Regions from separate parts of the Homo sapiens genome. Here all the other regions are linked to region 1. The links are contacts of gene promoters, found by promoter capture Hi-C in human tissues and cell types (Jung and others, 2019). All regions are on one chromosome and are shown on one strand. Each heading gives the region's core, a stretch centred on a gene start or on the middle of the fragment in contact. The rest is flanking DNA. Distances are from core to core; before and after follow the strand shown. Region 1 holds the start of NRIP1 (nuclear receptor interacting protein 1). Region 2 overlaps ASMER1 (adipocyte associated metabolic related lncRNA 1). Region 3 overlaps ASMER1 (adipocyte associated metabolic related lncRNA 1). Region 4 has its middle 180 kb from the start of LINC02920. Region 5 overlaps ASMER1 (adipocyte associated metabolic related lncRNA 1). Region 6 has its middle 170 kb from the start of LINC02920. Region 7 has its middle 130 kb from the start of LINC02920.

What was found. Contacts are between HindIII fragments. The study calls those that stand out against the background at their distance.
Region 2: a fragment that was not itself captured here is called in contact with the fragment with the promoter of NRIP1 in region 1 in 1 of the 25 tissues and cell types used here (dorsolateral prefrontal cortex).
Region 3: a fragment that was not itself captured here is called in contact with the fragment with the promoter of NRIP1 in region 1 in 1 of the 25 tissues and cell types used here (dorsolateral prefrontal cortex).
Region 4: a contact is called between a fragment that was not itself captured here and the fragment with the promoter of NRIP1 in region 1, in 1 of the 25 tissues and cell types used here (lymphoblastoid cells).
Region 5: a contact is called between a fragment that was not itself captured here and the fragment with the promoter of NRIP1 in region 1, in 1 of the 25 tissues and cell types used here (dorsolateral prefrontal cortex).
Region 6: a contact is called between a fragment that was not itself captured here and the fragment with the promoter of NRIP1 in region 1, in 1 of the 25 tissues and cell types used here (mesenchymal stem cells).
Region 7: a fragment that was not itself captured here is called in contact with the fragment with the promoter of NRIP1 in region 1 in 1 of the 25 tissues and cell types used here (lymphoblastoid cells).

Annotation. Positions count from the first base shown.
Region 1 is chr21:15,063,266-15,066,658 of GRCh38, forward strand. NRIP1 (nuclear receptor interacting protein 1) reads right to left here and starts at 1,735. Exons shown (of 4, transcript NM_003489.4): 1 at 1,480-1,735. RefSeq lists enhancers at 87-136, 2,587-2,636 and silencers at 967-1,826, 2,077-2,256. The HindIII fragment of the contact is 21,921 bases long and covers 1-3,393 here.
Region 2 is chr21:14,819,518-14,822,910 of GRCh38, forward strand. It overlaps ASMER1 (adipocyte associated metabolic related lncRNA 1), which reads right to left. Exons shown (of 4, transcript NR_146322.1): 4 at 1-3,393. Among named protein-coding and RNA genes, the nearest start is that of ASMER1, 97 kb to the right of the region's middle. The HindIII fragment of the contact is 3,318 bases long and covers 1-3,195 here.
Region 3 is chr21:14,837,374-14,840,766 of GRCh38, forward strand. The region is part of intron 2 of ASMER1 (adipocyte associated metabolic related lncRNA 1); the gene reads right to left. Among named protein-coding and RNA genes, the nearest start is that of ASMER1, 80 kb to the right of the region's middle. The HindIII fragment of the contact is 3,862 bases long and covers 1-3,393 here.
Region 4 is chr21:15,249,672-15,253,064 of GRCh38, forward strand. No RefSeq gene overlaps it. Among named protein-coding and RNA genes, the nearest start is that of LINC02920, 180 kb to the left of the region's middle. The HindIII fragment of the contact is 3,544 bases long and covers 1-3,347 here.
Region 5 is chr21:14,898,012-14,901,404 of GRCh38, forward strand. The region is part of intron 1 of ASMER1 (adipocyte associated metabolic related lncRNA 1); the gene reads right to left. Among named protein-coding and RNA genes, the nearest start is that of ASMER1, 19 kb to the right of the region's middle. The HindIII fragment of the contact is 6,600 bases long and covers 1-3,393 here.
Region 6 is chr21:15,231,254-15,234,646 of GRCh38, forward strand. No RefSeq gene overlaps it. Among named protein-coding and RNA genes, the nearest start is that of LINC02920, 170 kb to the left of the region's middle. The HindIII fragment of the contact is 4,847 bases long and covers 1-3,393 here.
Region 7 is chr21:15,194,457-15,197,849 of GRCh38, forward strand. No RefSeq gene overlaps it. Among named protein-coding and RNA genes, the nearest start is that of LINC02920, 130 kb to the left of the region's middle. The HindIII fragment of the contact is 3,516 bases long and covers 157-3,393 here.

The sequences.
Region 1 (3,393 bases), core at 485-2,984:
TATCGACGTTACCGAACTGCCGGGCAAAACCAGAGCAACTCACTTACTTGGAAGGTGAAAAACACTTCAACATACTCCAGGCGGCAACCGACACTTAGGGGCCAGGCAGATGAAACACCATTTGTTTAAAAAGTCTATTATTTCACTGTCTCTTCAACAAAGGTGGAAAACTGATGATTAAACACTGAATAATGCCACCCACTTACTAAACCTATGATTCACTAATAAGCAGGTTCAATGCAATTCATAACTTTAAAGAATGAATTACCGAAGCCCCTTGCTTCACAAATTCCCCCAAGAAACAGAAAGAGCATTCATCACATATAACCCGACAACCATTTTTACTATGGACACCTACAGATGGCTTCTCTTCCTCTAAGGACACAATTTCCTTCACAATCCCACATGTAATCATTTACAATACCAGAAACAAACTCCAACTCAGTTCCACCAACTGGGTTTTTAAAAATCCTTGTGCCTAAGAACGTCTTTTTTCCCCAAAGTAAAATGTGCCATTAAAAAATATTTTTAAAACGCAAAAGTGCTTATCATTCCGTACTTCTTTTACTACCTTCAGCAGCCAATTATTGACGTGATAAAAGGTAGAAACTCCTGGAATGCTTCAGAGATCAACATGTGTCACAGACTCCCAGCCTGTCCGCCTCTAAGACACAGTTGGTTCCTTTGTTCCTTCTGACTGAACACCAACTCCTGATCAAAATTGGGAAACTACTTTGGAAGGGATGGGAGGGTCTGCAGAATACATCCACGGAAACCTTCATAAAACAATATTCAATCGTAATAAGGTGGACACAGAAGAAGGGAGAAAAGGCAGCCTCCCGGACTTCCACCGGGCTCACCCTAAATGGGGGCCGGCCCCTGGCTCCTGGTAAAATGATGGCTGAGGCCTCGGGTCCGTGAGCCTCGCCATCGGGAGGGGACCGCGAGTGCGGGCAGAGCGGCCCGGGGTCGGGTGGGGGCCGGGCGAGCTGTCCCTTTTCCTATTCACTTTCCCAGCCGGGTATCCAGCGAGCAAGGAGCAGGGAGGCACCCAGGCGAAAGGCGCCGCCCAGGATCCGGCTGGACAGCAGGACGGAGAGCGGCGAGGCGAGCGGTGCCCGGGGTTCGGGACCGAGAGGGCAAGCGAGCGGGGGCAACCCCGACCCGGCCCCCCGAGTCCGGCCCCGCTCAGGGGCCACGCGACGGCCGCCCCCTTGCCCAGAACTGGCACGGACGGGCGGGCCGACCCGGGGCCACTCCACAACTTGCCGGCCCGCCGCCCCGGCCCCCCGCGAGAACCCGGAGACTCGAACCAGGCAGCAGAGGCAGGATTTCCCCGGAAACGCGCCCTCCCCGCCGCCCCGACGCCCCCGCGGCCCTGCCAGCCAAGCGAGAGCCGACGCGGGCCGCGCTCCCGGGCCGTTTCCGGCGGCGCCGGCGGCCGCTACTCCTGGCGCCCTGGCCGCGGCCGTCACTCACCCCAGGCCGCCGCGGCTCCCAGCCTCCGGCTCCGTCAGGCTCGGTCCGCGAAGGCGCCTGCCGCCCCGTCCTGGCCCGGCGCCCCGGCGAGCTCTTCCCTCCGACCAGCGGCGCTCACGGCGCAGCGGCGGACGCGAGGCCACGGGCGGACGGGCGCGCGCGGGTGGCGGGCGGGCGTGGGGCCGGGTCGTCCCTGCGCCTCGCCGCCGCCTCCTCCGCCGCCGCCTCCCGAGTTCGGGGCTCTGCTGCAATGTCTGCGAGGCTGACTTTGAGCGCCTCGCTCACCGCCCGCCCGCAGCCGCGCTCCTCCCTCCGCCGCCGAGTCCGCCGCGGCCCAGTCCCTCCCCTCGCCGCCCCACGCCATTCAGCTCTTCAGCCAAGTTTCTTAACCCTTTTCTCCCCCTCCCTCCCATTGTCACCCGGTCAGGAGGAAGCCGCGCGGATCCGGGCGGCTCACAGGAGCTGCGGAACCCCCTCTGTTTCGTGGATTTCCTTCTCGCCTGCTCTCCGGGTGTCCCAGACGGGGCTGCAAGACCCGGAGGCAGCGAGAGGACCGCGTCCCCGAGAGAGGGGCTGCACGGCGCGCCCGGGCCGTCCCCCGGGCTCCCAGCTCTGTCCAGCCGCCCGCGACCGCTGCAGGCGCCTGGACAGCTCCTCCTGGGGACCGGGGAAAGCGCTCTTGGGACCCAGGCCGAATGCTCCCGTTTGGGCACAGCCTGGGGGCCGGGGCGCCCCAGACGCTCCAGGGTCCCCGCCTGCCTTAAGCGTCTACCTCCTCCCCTTCACCCCACAACACGCGCTCTCTGGGCCCCCTTTCACCCACCCACCCCCAATTTCTATCTCCTTGTAATCTGTGTGTCCTGCTTTAATGTTGGGGGGCACGGGCGCGAACTCTGGGTCACTTTGACCCCACGCCCAGCACGTAGTAGGCGCCCAGCACTCGTGTGGAGCGACTCTGGGAGGAAAACTAGGAAGGAGACCTGAGGAGCGCCCCGCTCAGCTCCCTGGACAGACGTAGGACCCAGGAGCAGGGTTAATCCTCGGCTGCTTTGTCACTGCGAAGTCTCCAGCGGAGTCTGTCAGCCAATCTGCATCATCCCCGGGAAGGATCTGACCCAACAAGACAAGGGAAAAGGAGCAGGGCTGCTACTTCTTCAGCAGCTCTCCTCGGTTCGGTCTCCGAATAAGAAATAACAATTACATCACGAGGCCGGGGCGGCAGCGCGGTGGAGCCTCTCGGTTTCCTGCAGCCTAATCTCACTGAACCCGCCTCTAAATTGGGGGGGCCACAGATTGGTGAAACGAGAAAGTGGAAGGAGGAGAGAGTCATACGAAACCATAATTTCCCCTTATCCTTGTATTTGCTGTTTGAAAAATCGTATCCTCAACGCTCCCCAGACATCTCACTAGAACTATTAACACCCCCTCAACACCTCCCCAGATGTCAGGTTTCTTTTTGACTTGAGCATCTAGCATTTAGTAATTCGCCATGAAAAAAATTACCAGGGGAAGCGAGTGTTGTTGCTGAAATTGTTTTTGCTTGACACAAAAAAGCTAAAGTACAGCTTAGTCTCACCCGAAATTCTGAAACGGCATGCCCGTGTTAAAACACTTATTACATAAGACAAATGAGCCGATGAGGCACTCCATTCTTATATGTAGGTTTTCATATCCTGAAGAATTTGATAGCATTTGGAAATGAAGTTGCTAATGCGCTTAAAAAACAAAAACTATCCAAGTCATGAAACTGTATTCTGTGCCTGTTATGTAATGGCTGTATTGTGTATTGCAAATTTCACTTAACCTTTAAACAATATGAATGAGAGTTTTAGAATACTGTCACAGTCTTGAAAGTGAAAGCAATTTTTCAAATTAATGCTTAATAAATTCAGCACCCAGCACAGTGCCGGGCAC
Region 2 (3,393 bases), core at 287-2,786, 240 kb before region 1:
TACCTACCTCAAACACTTACGTGTTAATACAGACACAGCTCCTATAACAGTGCCAGGTACATAGGATGTGCTACATTTGATTTTTTATTATTATTTCTGATAAGCTTTCATCATATCTTTAGTGCATTTTCTAATGGCATCTGTTTGTTTTCTTTCATTTGAGGTTCTTTTGGCTTAAGCCAAAAGATAAACAACTGCTTTTCTTTTTTCTTTTGTTTTCCTTTTTTTCTTTTTTTTTACTTTTTTTTGAGACAGAGTCTCTCTCTGTCGCCCAGGCTGGAGTGCAGTGGCGCGATCTCGGCTCACTGCAACCTCCGCCTCCTGGGTTCAAGCGATTCTTCTGCCTCAGCCTCCCAAGTAGCTGGGATTATAGGCCTGTGCCGCCGCGCCCGGCCTGCTGCTTGTTTTTCTATGTTCCTGATGGGATGAGACCTATTTCAGTGAAGCGTTCTTTTTAAAGTAGCAATTGAAAGTCCCCAACATGATGAGTCCACCGGGGTGAATAGTCTTCAACTGAAAGCCAGAGATAAAAAAAGAAATTTCTAAATATTAAAAATGCCATGATGATAACTTTGAAACTTAATTGCAAAAGATGGCGATAGCAATGTCTAAAATGGCAATTGTCTGAAATGAGTGCCAATTAAAGGTCACAGGAACCTACAAAAAGGCTATGAGTGCTCCATTACACATTGCTAATTTGAGTAAATAGGGAAAGCGGCATTTATATGCAAATTGTGCGAAGAGAACATATTGCAAATATATTTCTACAGCTATGTTACCCATTTTCCTACTGCGTGTCTAATGAACAAGGGAGTTCCAGTCTTTATTAATAGCCTGTAGAATTAGCATTTGCTTTACAAAGAAATTGTCAATAAAAGAAAGGGGAGTTCCCAGAAGTTACCCACTCTACGAATCAGCACACTTACTACTAACACATGGATTTCAAAATTGACCAACACAGAATCAGAAACCTGTACCACAGTGTTTTAAACACTTCAGGCATGGAATGTAAAATGAGCACTAGCCGTGTCCTAAGAACAAATGTATTTTGAGCAAGAAAACATTTCAAAACTATCTTTGTTGTGTCCTAATGCTTCAAGCACTTTGGCCAAACAGTCCTACCATGTAAGTATCCCCCCCACTGGGATGCAATGGTTGAGGAAATTTCAAAATAGCTGTATCCTTTTAAGGAAACTATTCCTGTTGTTCGCTAAGGCAAAAGCTTGCGTGTAGATTTGTCTTCAAAGATCTTTGTCAACAGGTGTTAATAAGTTTGTTAATATCACAATTGGCTACTCTTTATGTACATTAAACACTAAGTATTAGAGAATAGAGTGATGATATGTAGAACTTGCTATATAGAATTATTAATTTTCCATTTTTTCTGAGAAGCCTGCTGCCATTAAGGAACATCAGTTGGCAAAAAAAAAAAAAAAAAAAATCACTATCCCCTACAGCACCACTTCTGCGGTAGCTTTCTAGAAACACCAAACGCTACAAGCTTCTTAGGGATGAAAACAGTTTTTTATGCAAACATAGATGAGGGCTTCACTTGGTGCCTTTTCAATTAACAGTTCTCAACAAAACCATTTCTGTACTGATTATTTCTGACTCTCTTCTATTTTGAAATGATTTCTCTGACCAAAATTTATGTTGAAAAAACTCACAAAGATAAAGAAAATGTTACCTGTTTCCATAACACAATTTTTAATAGCATTTTCCTCTAAGATAGGCCAATTGTTTTTTTCTTATAGAATGTATTTCTCATGAAAAACTATTTTAGACATGAGAAGGTATTATTTTTCAAATGAATCATGACAGAATTTTTGTGAAGATGCTACATTACCCATACGAGGAACACTGTTTCACATTTTCCAGGTATTTTGGAATCCTACCTTGAGGAGAAATTCAACAGAAGACACTGTGGTCAGGACCTCTCTAGCTAAATGAAAAATTGACATAATTTTCTTCTACAGACAGCCTTAAAAAAATATTTATTCAATTCTCCAGATAATTTAGATAAAAATGATGTTTGGAGTTTGATTTGACTAAAAATATCACCTTTCCTTCAGCTATTTGACTATATGGACATGACCTCAGATGAACACAGCAGAAATGTGGAGTTTAGGTCAATGAAAAGAAATTAATTTATAAAATCTAGTGTTTCCAATTCTAGTGATGGCTTAGGAAACTTCACTTTCTCTGTTGATAAGAAAAATAATTATTAGTGATAGATTAATAAAATAACTTTAAAACCATGTATTTGACAGTTTAAGTAAAGTTTATGCTGTATAAGTTCAAATTTTACTGCCTTTTTAATAATGTGTAAATCATGTTGACACTTGTAAGAAAAATGTCCATATTATTTTAAGTCCAAATTTTACTGCTTTATCATTTCTATTACGTATTTTGGAAATGGAAATCTTTTGACCTTAAAATAATCAAGTAATAAAATAAAGTAGTAAAAGAAATTGAAAAGCCGTGCATCTGACTCTTTATTTCAAACCATTAAGATGGAAGTAAGAAAAAAATTGATGACTTCTATTCATAACCAATTGAAAAAGGAAGGAAATCTCTCTTTAGCCTGAAAGTGTATATCTAGATGAGAATGACCAAAAATGGATAAGCTCTGGTTGGTCAATATAATGAGTAGTTACTGATGTACTGATATTTTTAATAGCTTAGCCTAGATGGTATTACTTTTGTAAGTTATATGTAAGAAATTATTTGGCTATTCACTAAACTTATTTTCCAAAAAGTGCTTTCTATTTCAGAAGCACTATGTTACAAATACTGTATCATAAAGAAAAATAAGAAAGGATAATGTCCTCTACCTTTGAAATCTCAGTAACATTTTAATGTTAACAATGGTCTGCTTCTTTTTATATCAATGCTAACATAATACTGAACAGTCTTGCTTGAAAAAAATTCAAAAAGAAGATAATGAAATATCCCAGAAATTTGTCACATTGTAGAAAGAAAGCCGCAATAAAAAATGTGAGATCCCTTTACACAACATATTTCTTAGCATTTGATCAGAAAGCTTTGTTATTGGCACTCACGTAATATTTCAATATAATTACCATGTTGTCTGCTAATCATTACTCACTAACTAAAATTACTAAACACAAAAACTATGCTTATTCCTATGAAAATATTCAGTTAAGGAGTTTCAAAGCATAAAATCTTTATTTTTAATATTACCTATTACATATTAAATCAAATGAATTAGAATACTAATCCTGAGAAGTAACTGCTTACAATATAAAAATAGTATATCTAAATCTATTACTGACCTACGATTATTCTTCAGTCCAGTTCCCTGTACAAATCCAATCTGTGTCCAAGCTTATTTAAAGATGTCAATCTCATCAGAATTTAAATATGACACAG
Region 3 (3,393 bases), core at 654-3,153, 230 kb before region 1:
TACATCACACACCTGTATTTGTCTTTGATAATGGAAAAAAAGACTCATCACTTTTAATGCCCACTCAACATATCTTCATTATCTTGGGAATATCTTCACCAAAATATATTAAAAAGTCACTAGAGAAAAATGAATGCATATACAATGTATGAATATTGCTGGGCTAAATGGGTACCTCTATCTCATTAGTCAGCATGGAGCCTCCTGGCTGCATGCCTACATTTCAAGCCCAGCCAGAAAAACAACAACAACAAAAACAACAAATAGATTTGAGACATCCAAATGAAAAGAAATGGTCCTTTTTCTGATTGTGTTAACATTCTACTAGTTATTTATTCATTTATGTCTTTTTCTTAGTCTTCTGCAGCAGAATCAAGCAAATCCCATTTGTTCCTTCACTCCGCCAATATTTATTGTATACCTTCTACATACCAGGAACTATTGTAGGCACTGGAAAAAAGAATGAACAAAATCAGTAGATCTCCTGTTTTCATAACATTTGCATTCTAGAGGAAGACCAGAGACAAACAAATAAATACACAATATGTCATACAGGTAGTAAGATCTAAGGAGAAAATAATAACAAGGGAGGGTGAGAACGAAACTGTGCTCCTGGACAGTGAGGATTCTATTACATCTAGGTGTTATTTGAGTGGGAACTTGAAAGGAAAATAAAGAAGAAAGTCACGTAAGTATCTGGGAAAGTAGTATCCTTGACGGAAAACTGAATTTACAATAAAAGCCTTCATTTATACGATCTGATTGGGACTGGCTTGAGGGGAGCCAAGTTCATTCCATTTTCAAGTAAAGAATAAGTCAGAATTATATATCCTTTAAACCACTGTATACTTTTAGAAACTCTGCAAAAGTCCTCTGAAAATATTCTTCACTTAACCCTTACTCATACTTTGCTAAACTCTTCCAACTTTGCATTACACAATTGATAACTTTAAACTAACCTACAGTACTCTAAGTTTACTTTACATTTTTTTAATCAATGGTGGGTACATTAGTGAGCATCCACCATCAGTGAGTACATTTTATTATACTTCCTAGTTGTTTGGTTACTTGCTAAGGAAATTTTCTGCAAGTTTGCAGACTGTGGGAATATAAGGAGCACAACGAGTAAGGCCAGATGTCCTCCCTCTTGTTTAAGAGCTTAGATTTCAAGTGACACTTGTATACTTTAAGTAGAGACTGCTGCTTTTCATAGCGGTGTGAATGTTTGCTATACCAAGATGCTGTGATCGTTCAAAGTGAATGCAAATGCCTGTCCTCACAGGCAGTCTCTAAAGGCAATCTGATAAATGCATGTAGATGTTTGAACATAAACTGAAAGCAAGAGGAAAAGAGCACTTACCAAATGGAGTAGAATACCCAATGAATAGAGTACAAGCCATTTTGTTCTTGGAGAGAAACAATATGACTCCTTTCTTTTGGGAAGTCTGTTTCTTTTCTTTAGGTCTGAGCCCATTAAATGATTCAATTTATGTTTATCACTTAGACAATAAACATTATATCCCTTTCCTCTCTGACTGTAAGACCAGAAGGAAGGTGGGAGAAAAAAAGCAAAGATTTCCCGAGGTTCACAGATACCTGAATTCAAATACAGAGAATATAAATGAGAAACAACACTTTTGTCACTGAATTTAACCTGCCTTTAAACCTGATAAAGTTGCAAATTCAACATTGATTTTTCTCTAAAAATAAATAACTTATTTTGAGGAACAGCAGATGAATTTACACCCTATAGAAATAATTTAGGATGCTGGTTCCCTAAGGTTTTTCCCAAGACTAAGAAATATTGATCAAGAGCAACAGGAAAACTCCCCAGCAAAATAATGTGAGCAGTTTGAAATTTTGTTTTCATATTTTGCCTTTATTCTCAGTATCTCCTATAAGGAGCTTAGTTGTCACTTTGACATTTATTGTCTCAATATTCACATGTATAAAATAGTGAAGAGAAAAAGTATCATTTTTAATGATTGACAGTAACAGGGTTTAGATAAAACTTCCAAGAGCTAAGTGGATTGTTGAAGGAATTAAACAGATAATTCATGCAAAAAATTCACAGATGTGGCTGAGATAAAAAATTGTTTATTAGGTTTTATGCCTATATATTTTAGATAATCACCTTGATTTCTTCTTTGTTCTTCATGGAGAGATACAGGCTGAGTAATTTGTGTAACATATATTACCTATATGCTGCTTTTGGTACCATGATCTGTTTAATCAACATTTATGCTTGGTTGACTTTTCTTAATTAAAAAAGGAAGATTAACTTAGCTATTAATTTATGACCTAAAAGTATAAGCTTCCACCTTGCCAAACTACTATCTAGTGCTTGTAAATGACTGTGTGTTTCCATTTGACTGATTTTTAGTGACAGCATGGCATAGTGACCTTAAAAGGGATAACATGGTGATAATGTACAATAATGATATATCGAATGTTTGGTGAAAAAAAAGTAGCATACATTAGTGCATCCCTGCTATGATTAAACTATGTTACAAGTAAGACAAGGATCGAATGGAAACCAGAGAAAATATAGGCAGGTTAGTTTGTTGCCATCGTGGGAAGTTGGATCCAAGTAGATTTAGCTTCAACTGAAATGTATTGGATGCCTACTATGCGCCAAGCAGTCTGCCAAGTTCTTTCATCTTTTTTATCTCCTTATATCTCATCAGTCCTGCGAGAAGATTATTATTATTCTCACTTCACCAACAAATACAAAAACAACTTTCAAAGAGCAGACTCGAGATTACACAGCTTCATGAGAAACTGAAATGTAAGCCATGGTTTCTGATTTCTTTCACACATTCCCTACGTCATGTAATGCGTTAAAAAGAAATAAATATAACTAAAACACCTAATTAGTTCAACTACCCCCATGGCTTAAATATATACATAATATATGCTATATTTAATACATAGAGCATCACTGTCATTAGTTATGAGACTTTCAGGAATTATGTCTTATGTATACAAATGTATTATGTATATAGCAAACCTGGAAGTGAAAATGGGTAACAGCTGTAATAGGATTGTGGTGGAGAGATCCAGGATATACAACTGTGAAGTCTTTTTCTGAATTCTCCTTATCTACCTAGAAGTAGAAACTTTCAAAAGAATTCAACTATCATGAATACCCCTCTGAAGGAGTCTGACGCTACGAAAAGACCGCTTGCACCTGCATAAATAACACCACAATTTCTCCCACTTGTTCCCCTAAGAATCTATATGTCTTTCCTAAACATGTATGTTCTTCTCATCAAAGCCTTTTCTCTCTCCTTCACTTTTTCTTTTAAATTAGGCCTATAAGACCCTAACTTTAGCTATTTAGTGAGGCCACTTCTTTTGTGTGCTCCCGTATGCATATATAAATAAACTTTA
Region 4 (3,393 bases), core at 326-2,825, 190 kb after region 1:
GCTAAAATCTGCATTTCCCAGGTTCATTTGCAGCTGCTTGTCAAATGTATGCCTCTCTGAGATTTGGAAGATGGAAGTGCACATCCTGTGGCCAATTCCATGCTTCTGTTGTTTCAGCTGTTTCCCCTGGCAAGCTTGTCTTTAGGGGTGTTTGTTTCTTCTGCAGTAGCTGTAGTAGAGTTTCCAATGTCCAGTGTTTAGCTTTATAGTGTGGAAAGGCAGTGTGGGAAGCATTCATTTTGCTGGCAGAGGTTGTGGACAAACTGGCATAGTGGTTGGGGAGCTAGCAGCCTCTTGCTTCTCCAGCCCCCTTATCGTGGTAAAAGCAGTGTCTTCCACGGAGGCTCACTCTAGACTGTTGTTTTGGAAGTTGTTCCTGGGCACTCTGCTTAGGGCTTATGCCCCCAGAGCTTCCACAAATCTTAAAGCCCCCAGATCTACCCTTGTTAACCTAGCCAGAATGGTTTCCGTGATCTGCAGCTGATCCTTAACTAATTCACCTTCAAATGAAAAAATTTTATAAGAAAATTAAGTATCGATTATGGAGGACATGACCTTGTCTTAAACACCTTCCGGTACCCAGTGCCTAGAACAGTGGTTTGCACTTGGTGTTTAATAAATTTGTTAGGTTTCATTGAATTAATTGAACTCCCTGAACAATTTGTGCTTCTCCAAATAGTGCCATAGAATATATTTGGCAAACTCCCTAACTCTGATAGTTGTTTTACATGATAAATTGCCGATATTGTTAGTATCTAAAATGCTTTGATCTGAAATTTTTTTGGAATTTTCAGATCCATGCCATCTGGCTTCACTGACTCATGGAAATTTAATGTCTTAAGTCGTAGTCACCACCTGTTGTTTCTTTTTCTGTATTTATGCTGGTGAATCATATTTGCTTTCAATGAAAAGTAATTCTTTAGTAAAAATTCCACATTTACTCTGTCAGTAATGATCACTGACTGAGTGATCAGAGGAACAATTCAGCCTTCACTGGTTCTTAAATACTCCTGTTCCCCCCACTAAGTATATGACTGCACTTTGAGTTCTTTATCTACAACCAGACAGGGTCACACTCAACCCTTAGACTATTCTTATAGAAGAATGATTCATAGATTTTACCTGAATTTTGTTTTTATAATCCTTCTTGCATTGTAGTAGCATTCATGTCTGGTGTTCTATGCCAATATTGCTATTTTTTCCATATATTTTATTTCTTATGAACATTTGTAATCTTAATACTTTCCACGGTATAGTGCCCCCAAAAGATTCCCTACACACTCCTGTGCAAGAGGCCAATTAGAGGACACATGAGAAGGAGACATAGATCCTTCTCTAGTACCTATCAAAATATGTTTTGTAGCAAGCAGCGGAAACTCAACTCAAGCTGGATAAAAGATAAGTAGCCTATGTTGGTTGACAGGACTGAGAAGTACTGAGATAGGAAGGCTTCAGGTGTAGTTCAAATAAAGTTCTTGTTCTATTTCTTTGTGATTTTTTGGCTCTGCTTCTTTTGCATATTAGCTTCACCCTAGGCAGGCTTCCCTGTAGTTGCAGGAGAGATATCTACAAAAACGTAACAGCTTGTGATGTCCATTGCACAAAATTTCTAAGCCTTGCTCTGATTAGGCTACCCTCTGATAAGGGGGATGATTACATTGAAACATCCTCTTAAGCTACCCAATGAGGGAGATGTTAATGGATGTGAGGATGGAAACCATGTTATCTCTTCTTCCTGTGATCCAGTTTTGTTGTGGTCAGACCTAGACCCCAGGAAGACAATTGGGCATGTTCTCCACTATCCTTAAGGGCAGACCAACTCTTAATATATATTGTTGTATCATTTTTACTGTATATACATTTTTCTGTTTCCTCTGTTAACAATGACAAGCTTGAAGGAAGGTTTCATCTTGTTTGTACTTTTATTATTGATGCACACCAGCTACTACTGGAGTCCCCTCACTGTACATGTGGAGCCTTTCTCTACATGTCATGATGCTTTAAAAGGTTCTGATTATGTGATGATGCTTTAAAAGGATCATCATAAAATACATTTAGATGTATTTTACATAACCCTGACTTGGCTCTTGAGACATATTGAGCCAGAACTAGGCAATTAGTCAATCAGTAAACACATATGAAGTACTCCTGTGTGTGTCAGGCATTTGGTGCAGGTCAGAGAACATGGCAAGGAGTAGTGTCTCATTAAAATATTTCAAGGCACATATAAATGGATGATGTCATCTCCCAGGTCTGTGTCCCTTCTCCTGTCACTGTTGGAATTCTCCTTCCTCTCCTGGGTTTTCTTCCCAGGTTCTCAGTGCTATCGTGTATATTGCCCCATGTCCGTGATCTTCTACCGCTGTGGCTTGCCAGTGCTAGGAGAGCTCCTTTTTCTGTTCACGCAACCGTGATTGAGTGCCGCTGAGGATCCCACAATGACTGAAGCACACGATTCGCCTTGGGACTTCACAGTCTAGTGAAAGGCTTCCACATAAATAGCAATGTGATGAATGCCAGGATAGAAATAAGAATCAGAGATCCAATTCAAGCACTCAGAACAGGGCAGTTAAGGAAGATTTCTCAGAGACAGCGATGCCTATGAATCTTAAACAAAAACAAAAGCAAAAATGGGAAAATGTCAGCCAGGTGAAATGGCATTGCATGCAGAGGGAGCAGCGTGGCCAGAGGCCATGTGAGAGAAGCTGGCTGCTAGGGAAGAGTAAGTCCCTCTCCACAGCTGGGTCATTTCATGCGTGTGAAAAGTTGCTGGGAACAGCCTCATTTTCCATATTCTGATTCAAGCAATGTGGCTACCGTTTTTGGTGACCCTTAAATCATTAGATGACACCAAGATGAACAGTTTTCTTCATGAACATAAGAGGAAACTGTAACCAGAAAAGGCCTGGGAGTATCTTTCTGCTCAGCAGGAAAAACAATTCTGTCTCAAGAGCCATCCCTGCAGAAGGGGAAGTGGGTTAAGGCAACTCCTTGCAGAGAGTGACTTGAGAGGATGAGTAAAACATCTTCCCAGTGGGGTCTCCCTCCCTTTCTATCTGGCCACAAATTCTCAATAGTTAACTCACTAACTGACGAGGTCAATAAAAGTGGGACATCCTCTTCTATAGAAAGCCTCGGTGATCATGGTGATCACATAGCCCTGTCTGAAGAGTACATTAACTGAGATTAGCTCATTATCTTTGTGATGAACTTCAGAAGAGTTTCCGTTCAGTGGAAAAAAGAGCAGGCAGGGTTGGGAGAGGAGCAGCGAGGCCTCTAGGAGGAGAAACTCATTGAAATGGTGTCAGTGCTGCTGTCTCTGTGGGGTTGGTTGGTGTACTAGTTAGGGTTCTCTAGAGGGACATCCAAAGGGTGGATTTATAAATAAAAGGG
Region 5 (3,393 bases), core at 611-3,110, 170 kb before region 1:
CACTGCACTCCAGCCTGGGTGACAGAGCGAGAATCCGTCTAAAAAAAAAAAAAAGAAAGAAACTTTGCAAATCTCAATCTCTATATCAAGGTTTTCCCCCTAGAACTCATGTCTCTACAGTTCTTTTGAATTATTTCAGAATCTGTAAAACCCCATGAAATAAACTCATATAAGAGCAATTCACTGTGTCTAGGAAACTGTATCCAGTAAGGGTCCTTGGCATACCAGGGAATATATTGGGCTTGGAATTAAGAAACTTGGGTTTACTTCTACTCCTAATTAACTGGTTAAACTTCAACAGGACCCTTTCACTTTTCTGGGCCCCTTCCTTATTTATTGAATTAGGGTGTTGGAATGGATAATCCATAGGTTTTCCTAGCCTTAATTAAGGATGGGAGCCAGTTGTCAATACAGCATAGTTAGGTATTAGAAGCAATTATAATTAGAACTAAAATGCCTCTGCTCATATCTGAGTTCTCTTCTAGGTCTTGTCCCAGGCACATACTTTATTTCTCTACATAATGTTTTCCTCATCTATAAAAAGGGAGTGATAACAATACATATCCCATGAGAGTTCATCATGATTAAATGAAATATAGCACATGAAGCACTCATCGTAGAATATGGCACCTATCAGTACTCAATGTTAGTTGGCAGTATTATGTATCTATAACTTTTTTCAGTTTTCAGAAAGGACTGGGAGAATGAAGTCTTATCATTGGATGTCAAGAAATCCTTCAGCCAGTTATTAAATTTGTTTACAGCTGGCAGGCCTGCAACACCAATAATCAAAGTATCCTTGTATAGGATTATTCAATAGGGCTGATTGTCCATAGGTCTATAGTTTATAATTAAGTCTACTTACAATGGGAATACCACATCATAATGCAACCAGTAACAAGCCCATCAGAGTTAAATACTTGCTAGAATTCTCATTATAAATCCCTGGTGCAAACTCTTTTTTGCCTTTAATTCTTTTGAAGGGATCCCAGGTTTCAAAGTCTGTATCCCTTTATGGTTATAAATCCCCAACATTTTAGTTCCAAAACCCATAATGGGCTAAAAATTAAAACCTGTTTGGGCTGAGTGCGGTGGCTTATGCCTGTAATCTCAGCACTTTGGGAGGCCGAAGTGGGCAGATCACCTGAGGTCAGGAGTTCGAGACCAGCCTGGCCAACATGGTGAAACCCCATCTCCACTAAAAATACAAAAAAAAAAAAAAATTATCTAGGCATGTTGATGCACACCTGTAATCCTAACTACTCGGGAGGCTGAGGCACAAGATTTGCTTGAACCTGGGAGGTGGAGGTTGCAGTGAGCCGAAATCATGCCACTGCACTCCACCCTGGGCGACAGAGTGAGACTCTGTCTCAAAAACCAAAACAAAAAGAAACCTGTCTGAAGCGTTGGCAGAAAATTTAAATTGTTCTTCATACTTTTGAAAGTAGGGGAGAAAAAGAATTAGGTCTCAGCAACATCTATATCTTGAAAATAGCCTTAACATGTAACATCAGAAGCAAGCAAAAGAAGAATTTGATCTACAAAACCTGGTTTTGGTAATCCATTCAAGTCAGCATTTTAATGGGGCTATGTACATTTTCCGAAATGCTTGCCCACTTCTGGCCATGCTTCACTAATACCCAAGTCACCAAGCAGACAGCACTATCTAACCAACAACTGGGGCCCTCTGGTAACCAGTGTCCCTGTACCAGTAACACATGCTGCCAAAGTTCTAGGGCTTCAATCATGATAATAAAAATTAATAAAAAATTGAGCATCCCAGAGCAACACAGATAGTTTTATGAGGGAGACACAGGGCTAATTTAATAAGATGGAACTTATTAAATTCCAGGATGTAAAAACCCTGGATCCTATATTTCAAATTGTTTCTCAGTATTGAGTGTTATCCAGCATGCATCAAGCATTTAAAGGGTGAGATGTGATTACCTTCTTTCTCAAAATGCAGAAAAGCCTTTGTTAAGGAAATCATTTCTACAACCTTCTTGGTAATAGTAAGAAATTTAAGGTGTCTGTGCTTGTAGCCACTTCTGTCTAAAGAAGCATGTTGTGTGAAAGGTGATCCATCCCATTTCCTGGCCACAGCTGACTGGATGTGGGGAAAACAATGACCCACCAAATGGCTCATCCACAGATAAGACAGCAATCTGTGACTCCTGTGGCCTAGCCAATCAGATTCTCCCTCTTAGGAATCAGTTCTAAGAGATTCAAAGGGCTATGTCCAATGAACTGTTTTCCTTTCATGAAAGGAAAGTTTGAGGCTGAAGCCATGAAAAAATCAGGATAGGTGCAGCCATCTGGGCTCTGTGAATAATGAATGAATCAGCAGAAGCAGTCAGTTAGGATAGAGAGAGTACTAGAAAAAAAGCAGATTAAGAGGAAACATCCAAGACCAGACACAGTGGCTCACACCTGTAATCCCAAACCTTTGGGAGGCCAAAGCAGGCAGACCATTTGAGCCCAGGAGTTGGAGACCAGCCTGGGCAACATGGCAAAACCCAATCTCCACTAAAAATACCAAAAAATTAGCTGGGCATGGTAGCCAGTGCCTGTAGTCCCAGCTACTCAGGAGGCTAAAGTAGAAGGATCACCTGAGCCTGGGAAGTTGAGGCTGCAGTGAGCTGTGATCCCACAACTGTATTCCAGCCTGAGCAAAAGATCAAGAGCATGTCTTAAAACAAAACAAAACAAAGCAAAAATTAGAAAAACATAGCCCTTGAAAGAGACATCTTGAGAGATGAGTCAGTTTTGAGAGAAGGGCTGATTCAGTTCTGTAGGTTTGGTGTTCAGTTTGATCTGGATTCCTGTGAGACCTCGTTCTCTCACTTAAATTAAACTCCTTGAGCTGGCCTTCTTCCTTATGACTTAAAAAGCCCAATTCAAACACTTCTCTTTCAGTAATACATTCTTTTTTTCCACTGGAATTTGTTAGTATTGTCTTTCCAAAGCTTTGGATAACATAAACATTGGCTTAAAAGTCATTTTTTAAAATCATTTCAGCCATTTGGTGACCCTAAGAGAGTACACATACTTTTATAGGGTTTCACAGAAATTCCAAGACAAAGGATTAATGTATTGTTTCTGTGAGTTTCTATTCAATTCAAATTTTATAATTCAAAAATTTTAAGTTGTTATCAACCACAGTAAGAATTATAAGAATGCTATCTATAATTTTAAAGAGAATGTTTTGCACTAACAACTGAAACATTTATTGAAAAGAAATTTTTATCGGTCTTATAGGGCTTTTGTGTGAATTTAGCAAAGTTAGCATGTATATAAGGCACAAGTACCATCGGAAAAGTTCTAAAAAGAATTAGTTATGTAGTTATTTCATATCCACAGTGCAAGGGCAAGGTTGAACAGAACTTTTCTCCA
Region 6 (3,393 bases), core at 561-3,060, 170 kb after region 1:
TTATAATTCTGGCTAGTGAATTATTTATTTTCTCTGGGATCATTTGTTCTGTTTGTTTATTTTGGTTCTTTTTTGACCCTGACCCTCTGATTTTTCTCAAGTGAGTGTGGTTGGTTGTCCACTTAATATTATGAATGAGACTCAATTAATGAATATAAGTAGCAAGGATAGGTTTTCTGTGCTAGAAAATTATGTGTATAAAGAAGAGCAGATATATTTTATAGTGTGCAAGAGTGGGGTAAACAGGCAGGCCTTCTTCTTCTCTTTTTACCTGTAAAACTCTAGCTCAAGCTTGTCCAACCAGGCCACACGTGGCCCCAGACGGCTTTGAATGCAGCCAAACACAAATTCATAAACTTTCTTAAAAACATTCTGAGATTCTTTCTACAACTTTTTTTAAAGCTCACCAGCTATGGTTAGTGTTAATGTATTTTATGTGTGGCCCAAAACAATTCTTCTTCTTCCAATATGACTCAGGGAGCCAAAAGATTGAACACCCCTGCTCTAGCCTCTGAGTTCTCATTGAGATGGAGTTGAGAATTAACTCCAGTCCTTCTACTTGGCCAGCCCTGTGATTATTTAACTCTTTATTTGCTGAAAACACCTGCTTTCTCAGTACATTAACTTTTCTGGGCAGCAGGCAAGATGAACCCATCAGGCGATTGCACTATAGCTTCAGGACCTGGAAACCCTACCTTGTCCTTTAGTCCCTCTAGTCCCAGGAGTGGTAGAACCTTACTGCTAATGGTAACCTCTGCATTTGAATCACCAACTTCAGCTATTGGCAGTAGCCAGTTGCTTACATCTTTAGGATAATAAACCCTTTGTAGTGATTTATTTCAGTTTGGAATATCTATAAAGACATTTGTTTTCCTGATTAAACCCTGACTGACACAGTTTTATAGCCCATTCCTGTTCTCTAATCTGCTCGTTCTCAGGTTGGAGTTTCTACAGATCTTCACCAGCAGAAGGGGTCCTTTCTGAATTGCTGCATCTTTCAATGAATATTCTGTTAGGGCTATGGCTTCCTCCACCCTGAACATACATTTCATGTCTTCCCATCTTTTTACTTTTTCTTCTTATGCCCCTGCCTATTACCTCCTTTTACAATGCTGTTATAATTTATTCCCTTTTAAACATGCTTACTGTCACTTCAATGGCAGGACAGGAGGAAGAGATGGATGTGTGCACTCAGTTTATTGCCTAGCTCGAAAGTAGTGAGCTACTTTCAAGGGGTAGTTTTTTTTTTTAAGAAAACTGGATATGACAATCTGAGAATAATTTCATTTTTACTAATTTATTTACATTAAAAACAAGATTCAAAAATAATAAAATAAAAAACCCCAACAACAACAAGGTTCAATGTAATGATTATTTCTGTTGTTAAAGGCTGGAGGATTATTTTTGAACTAGGAAAAACTAAGAAAAAATTGGGGTGAATGATTTCTGTCCTACCCCTTCATCCATGGGGTAGGACAGAAGCTATGTCCTTAGATCAGAGGCTCTTCCTATGTGGCATTTCTGTGTATTGGAGCTGCCTCTCTTGAGGTTACGTGGTTTAATCTGTTATTCTGTGAACACACCAAAACTATTCAATTTGCTAATTTGGTCCTGTAGTGATTTGAGTATGTCCCTTTCATTTAGCCACTCTGTTATGACACAAACATGATTATAATATATTAAGAAAAAACATTTCTTCGGCAGATTTTCTTTAGTTCTAGTTACATTGAACTGAGAACGTCAATCTATCTGGGAAAGTGGAGAAAATTACATAATGACCAAATAAGGTGTTGATTCAATCATCCCTAATGATTTTATAGTGGCTGAAAAATAGTGGTCTAAGTTTTCAGGATTGAATCTACTACAGACTCATTCAGAAATTGACTCTGCTCAATATTGCATATTTTAAGTACCTAATAAAATGGTAACTTATAAATTTTTTAAATATGTTTTTTGTATAAGAACAATTTTGGAAAAGAACATGTATGGAATATAAAATTATTTAAGTATCTGCTCAATTGACACTCACCTCCTTTCTATGAGAAATTCACCCCTGAATGTCTCCATTTGTTCCTTTATTTATTTATTTTGTTGCAAGACCTTTGCCACTTTGACTACTATTGATTGGTCCAAGATGGACACTTGACCACTCTGAGTCAGTCAAATTCTCTCTCAAAGAACCGATACTCAGAGTCATCTAGTTTCTAAAAATGGCTGGAGATGAGCAACATGTAAAATGTCTGTGGATGCTGGACAAGCCACCCATCATCCATTATTTGGAAAGAGGCAGAGAAATGACAATGAAGAATGACAGAAACAAGAGAAGAGAAACAAAGAGACAAGAAATCATGGGGGTGGAGGGGAGGGGGAGAGAGAGACTGCAAGCCTGCTCTGGGTTCCTAACAGCTTTTATTACTGATTCCAGTTTCTTTAGAGGCATTGGATTTGTGAGGTTCACCTGAATTCTTATAATGAAATCTTTCTTTTGCTTAAGCTGAGTTGAGCTGTTCTGCTACTTGAAACCAAAAGAGCCTAAAATAAAACAGAGCACACAGCAGAACAGGGAGATTGTTACTCTCCATGTGCATGAATACAGAAATTCAGAGACTGCTGGGTTTACATCTGTGTAAAGAGAACAAATTGACTGCAATTCTAGGTTGGCCTCCAGTTATTTTTTTTCTTTATCGATACATAAGAAATACATCTTCAACAATTTGCATATTAAGTCTTCAGCAAGTATCCAATTCCTGAATATTTAGATGTACTGTATTTGGTTAAAGCCTCATAAATTTATGCTATATTTTATGTAATCTTAGGCAGTTTTGAAAAATCTCTTTCAATAATGCTGAATGAGCTTTGTAGAATGTAGCACAATATCTGGTAAATGTGTAAGTGCTCATTACTGTTGATAGTAGCAAAGACATGGAATCAAGCTACATGCCCATCCATGGTAGACTGGATATAGAAAATGTGGTACATATACACCATGGAATACTATGCAGCCATAAAAAGAATGAGAACATGTTCTTTGCAGCAACATATATGGAGCTAGAGGGCATTATCCTTAGTGAACTAACACAGGAACAGAAAACCGAATACCACATATTCTCACTTACGGGCACCTAGACATTGAGTACATATGGGCACAAAGAAGGGAACGACAGACACCAGGGGTCAACTTGAGGGTGGAACGAGAGAAGAGGGTGAGGACTGACAAACTCCCTGTTGAGTACTATGCTGATTACCTGGGTGGCAAAATATTCTATACACCAAACCCCCATGACACACAATTCACCTACATGACAAACCTGCACGTGTAGCTGTGATCCTAAAAGTTAAAAAATAGTGTAAGTGCTCATTAAATGGTTAGCTCATGTTCTCTTTCCTTCTTAA
Region 7 (3,393 bases), core at 665-3,164, 130 kb after region 1:
CTCCAAAGTGATTTTTCATCCTGGCCTAAGTCATGAACTCCTGGGCATTTTTTTCCCTAAAGAAAAGAAAAACACATCTTCATTTCTGATTGGTTACTGTTGGGTACAGCATCCCTGGACATATGTAGCTTCTGCTTTCAAAATTATAAACAGTAGCTGCTGGGAGCAGTGGCTCACTCCTATAATCCCAGCACTTTGGGAAGGTGAGGGCAGATTGCTTGAGGCCAGGAGTTTGAGACCAGCCTGGCCAGCAGGGAGGAAACCCCATCTCTACTAAAAATACAAAAATTAGCCAGGCATGTGGTGTGCGCCTGTAGTCCCAGCTACTCGGGAAGCTGAGGCATGAGAATTGCTTGAACCGGGGAGGCAGAGGTTGCAGTGAGCCAAGACTGAACCACTGCACTCCAGCCTGGGCCGCAGAGTGAGACTCTATCTCCAAAATAAAAATAAAAAAATTATAAATAGCTGTGACAAAGTACAAACCATTAGCTTTAGATGTCTTAAAACCTTAGGATGACGGTTCTCTACAAAGTAGAACTTTGTACTCATTTGAATGTTTTTGGATGTAAATTACAGAAATCCAGCAAAAGCAAAGCAAAGCAAACAAACAAAAAAGTAGCCAAGTGTGGTGGCTCATGCTTGTAATGCCAGAACTTGGAGAGGCCAAGGCAGGAGAATCACTTGAGCCCAGGAGTTTGCAACCAGCCTTGCCAGCATAGTGAGACCCTGTCTTTAAAAAATTTTAAAAATTAGCTGGGTGTAGTGGTTTGTGCCTATAGTCCCAACTACTTGGGAGGCTGAGGCAGGAGGATAGCTTCAGCCTGGGTGGTTGAGACTGCAGTGAGCTATGATTGATCACAACACTGCACTCCAGCCTGGGCAGCAGAGCAAGACCCTATGTTCCAAAAAAAAAAAAAAAAAAAGTGGATTTTTTAGTTCAATTAACTAACCGAGAATTCCAAGTCTAAGCGTTCTTGTCAGGGCTCACTCTTTCTATGTCTTAGATCCACATGACTTTGTTTCTTTTTAAGAATTGACTGAAGCTTCTCACCAGGTGCATTGGCAGGAAAGGTTGTCAAAGCTCATACCCTACAGAACATGATCCAAAAGAAAGAGAGAACAGTTTTACTCCCAGTTCCAATATATGGAATTGCATGAGTGCAATTGTCTAATTGTCACTGCTAGGGTTGTGCATGTGCTCTGTAAACCATGTGAATTAGAGAAGGGTATTCCACGATTAATCAAGCCACACAATGTTTCCCTATTGGGTAGAGACAAGTCATGATTGGCACTCTCACCACAACCACGTAGAAAGAGGAGAAATATTCCCCCAGTGGCAAGAGAAAAGCTATATTTAAAACCAGTTTTGGAAGAGGGCATTGCATTGGGTCTCCTTTAAACTGCTACTGGCTGAGTTTATGAGGTTCCACTGAGAGACATAGTCCATCCAGTTTGTATGTGGCCTTTATCAGGCATGCGGGAGAGCACAAAAGACTCACAACAAACCTTTGACCTCATGTCCATAGGTTTGGACTGGGTTTGGAGAGTTCACCTGCAGACTAGCTTGATAAAAAGTGCTGTCACAGATGTAAATTGGAATGTCAGGAATAGCTTTATTGACTTTTGTGCCAGAGCATAGGATCTGAAAAGTCATTTGTTCTGCAATCTTTTAGAAAGACAGGGGCCATGCAATATGATCTTCTTCTACTGTGATATTACTGGAAAAAGGACTGGACATTTGTGCTGGCTCCATTTTCTGCTGATATATAGTTGTGACCCAGGACAATTTATTTAACCTCTTTGGAACTTGGTTTTCTAATGTATTAAGGGAGGTGGTTATGCCAGTTGATCTCCAACATCTTTGATCATTCAGCCCTGAATTTCTAAGGTTTTATTTTTTTCATTGGTTTTCATCTGACACATAGGCTGGAAAAGATGAGACTATGGTAAGAGGCAGGTAAAAGTCATTGTACTAGACAACTTGAAAAGGATATCTAAAAGATAATAAAAAGACAACTGGTTATTTTTATTTGTTTTAATTTCCCTAAAAAAGATATCAACTCCAATTACCAATCTTTGTTTTTAAATTTTAAAAATCACTTATTTTAAGGAATATTTAAGAAGGAACTTGTAGTGTCCAGTGAAGCAACTTCAAAAAGAAATTAGAAAAAGAGACTTGAGATAACTAGCAAAAGCAATGAGTAGATCTTGTTTTGACCCTAGCTTGAACAAAACAATTATAAAATACATGTTCTGTACAAGGGAGAACTTAAATATGACTTGCCTATGATATGGTACTAAGGAATTATGATTTTCTTAGATGTGACAACAATAATATTGCTATTATGGCAAATTGTGGGAAATAGTTATTACTTTACAGTGATGCATACTTAAATATTTAGGGTTATATGTCATGATATCTGTGATTCACTTTCAAATACTTGAGCAAAATAAAATATATATAAATCGAATGCGGCAAAATGTCAGCAAAAAAAAAACCTAGGTGAAAGTTCAATGGTTATTTCGTATACTATTCTCACCGTGTTTCTGTAAGCTTGAAAGTTTCCAAAAAAATTAAAGAAAACTGATTGTCCTTTAAAGTTTCAAGCTGTGCTTACCTTACATATTTATTTCAAATACAGTTCTAGTTTTTAGTTTTCCCAGGTGAAACTGGACTTAAGTGTCTTTAAGACAGTTAAAATATGATACCTGGATTTTCAACTTCAGGATGTGAGTTATAAGGTAGTAAAGGGACAGCCTATTTCCTATGCAAAAATGACCTTAAATAGAATCTTTAATATTCAGTATGTCCCTCCCTGCCCTCAACCACGCACACACATAGAACCTTGACTCTTTATAGCTTTTGCTAATTGTGTTAATGAGCCCAGATGAGGCTGAATAATGTAGTGGTTAGAAATTCTAGCTCTGAAACCGGTTACCTGGGTTGGGATCCTTATGTTAACACCTTATGTTTCAGTTTTCCCAGCTGTAAAATGGGGGAAAATGTTATCACCCATATGATGGGGGCCTTTTGAGGATTAGACATATTATGCACTTAGCACAGTTTCTGGCACTTCGTAATTGTTAATTATTATTTATACATTTTGCTGTGGGGAATCCAGATAAGGTTTGAGTTGACGTCAATGTTCAGGGACAGAAATACTTTTGCTTTTCAGGTGATAAAATTGGTTCAAGAGATGCATTCTGCCCTAGTGACTAGTGCTGAGACAGAGATTTTTAAAAACTGGAGGGCAGCATGGCACTGTGGAGTCTCTTTGATTGTAGTAATTTCCCTTACCAAGTGACTTAAGTCAAAGTCTTCTCAGAATGCTAGAAAACTAACATCTGGAGAAAATAAATTTCTCAAGACTCTCTAAAAATAACATCTCCCCA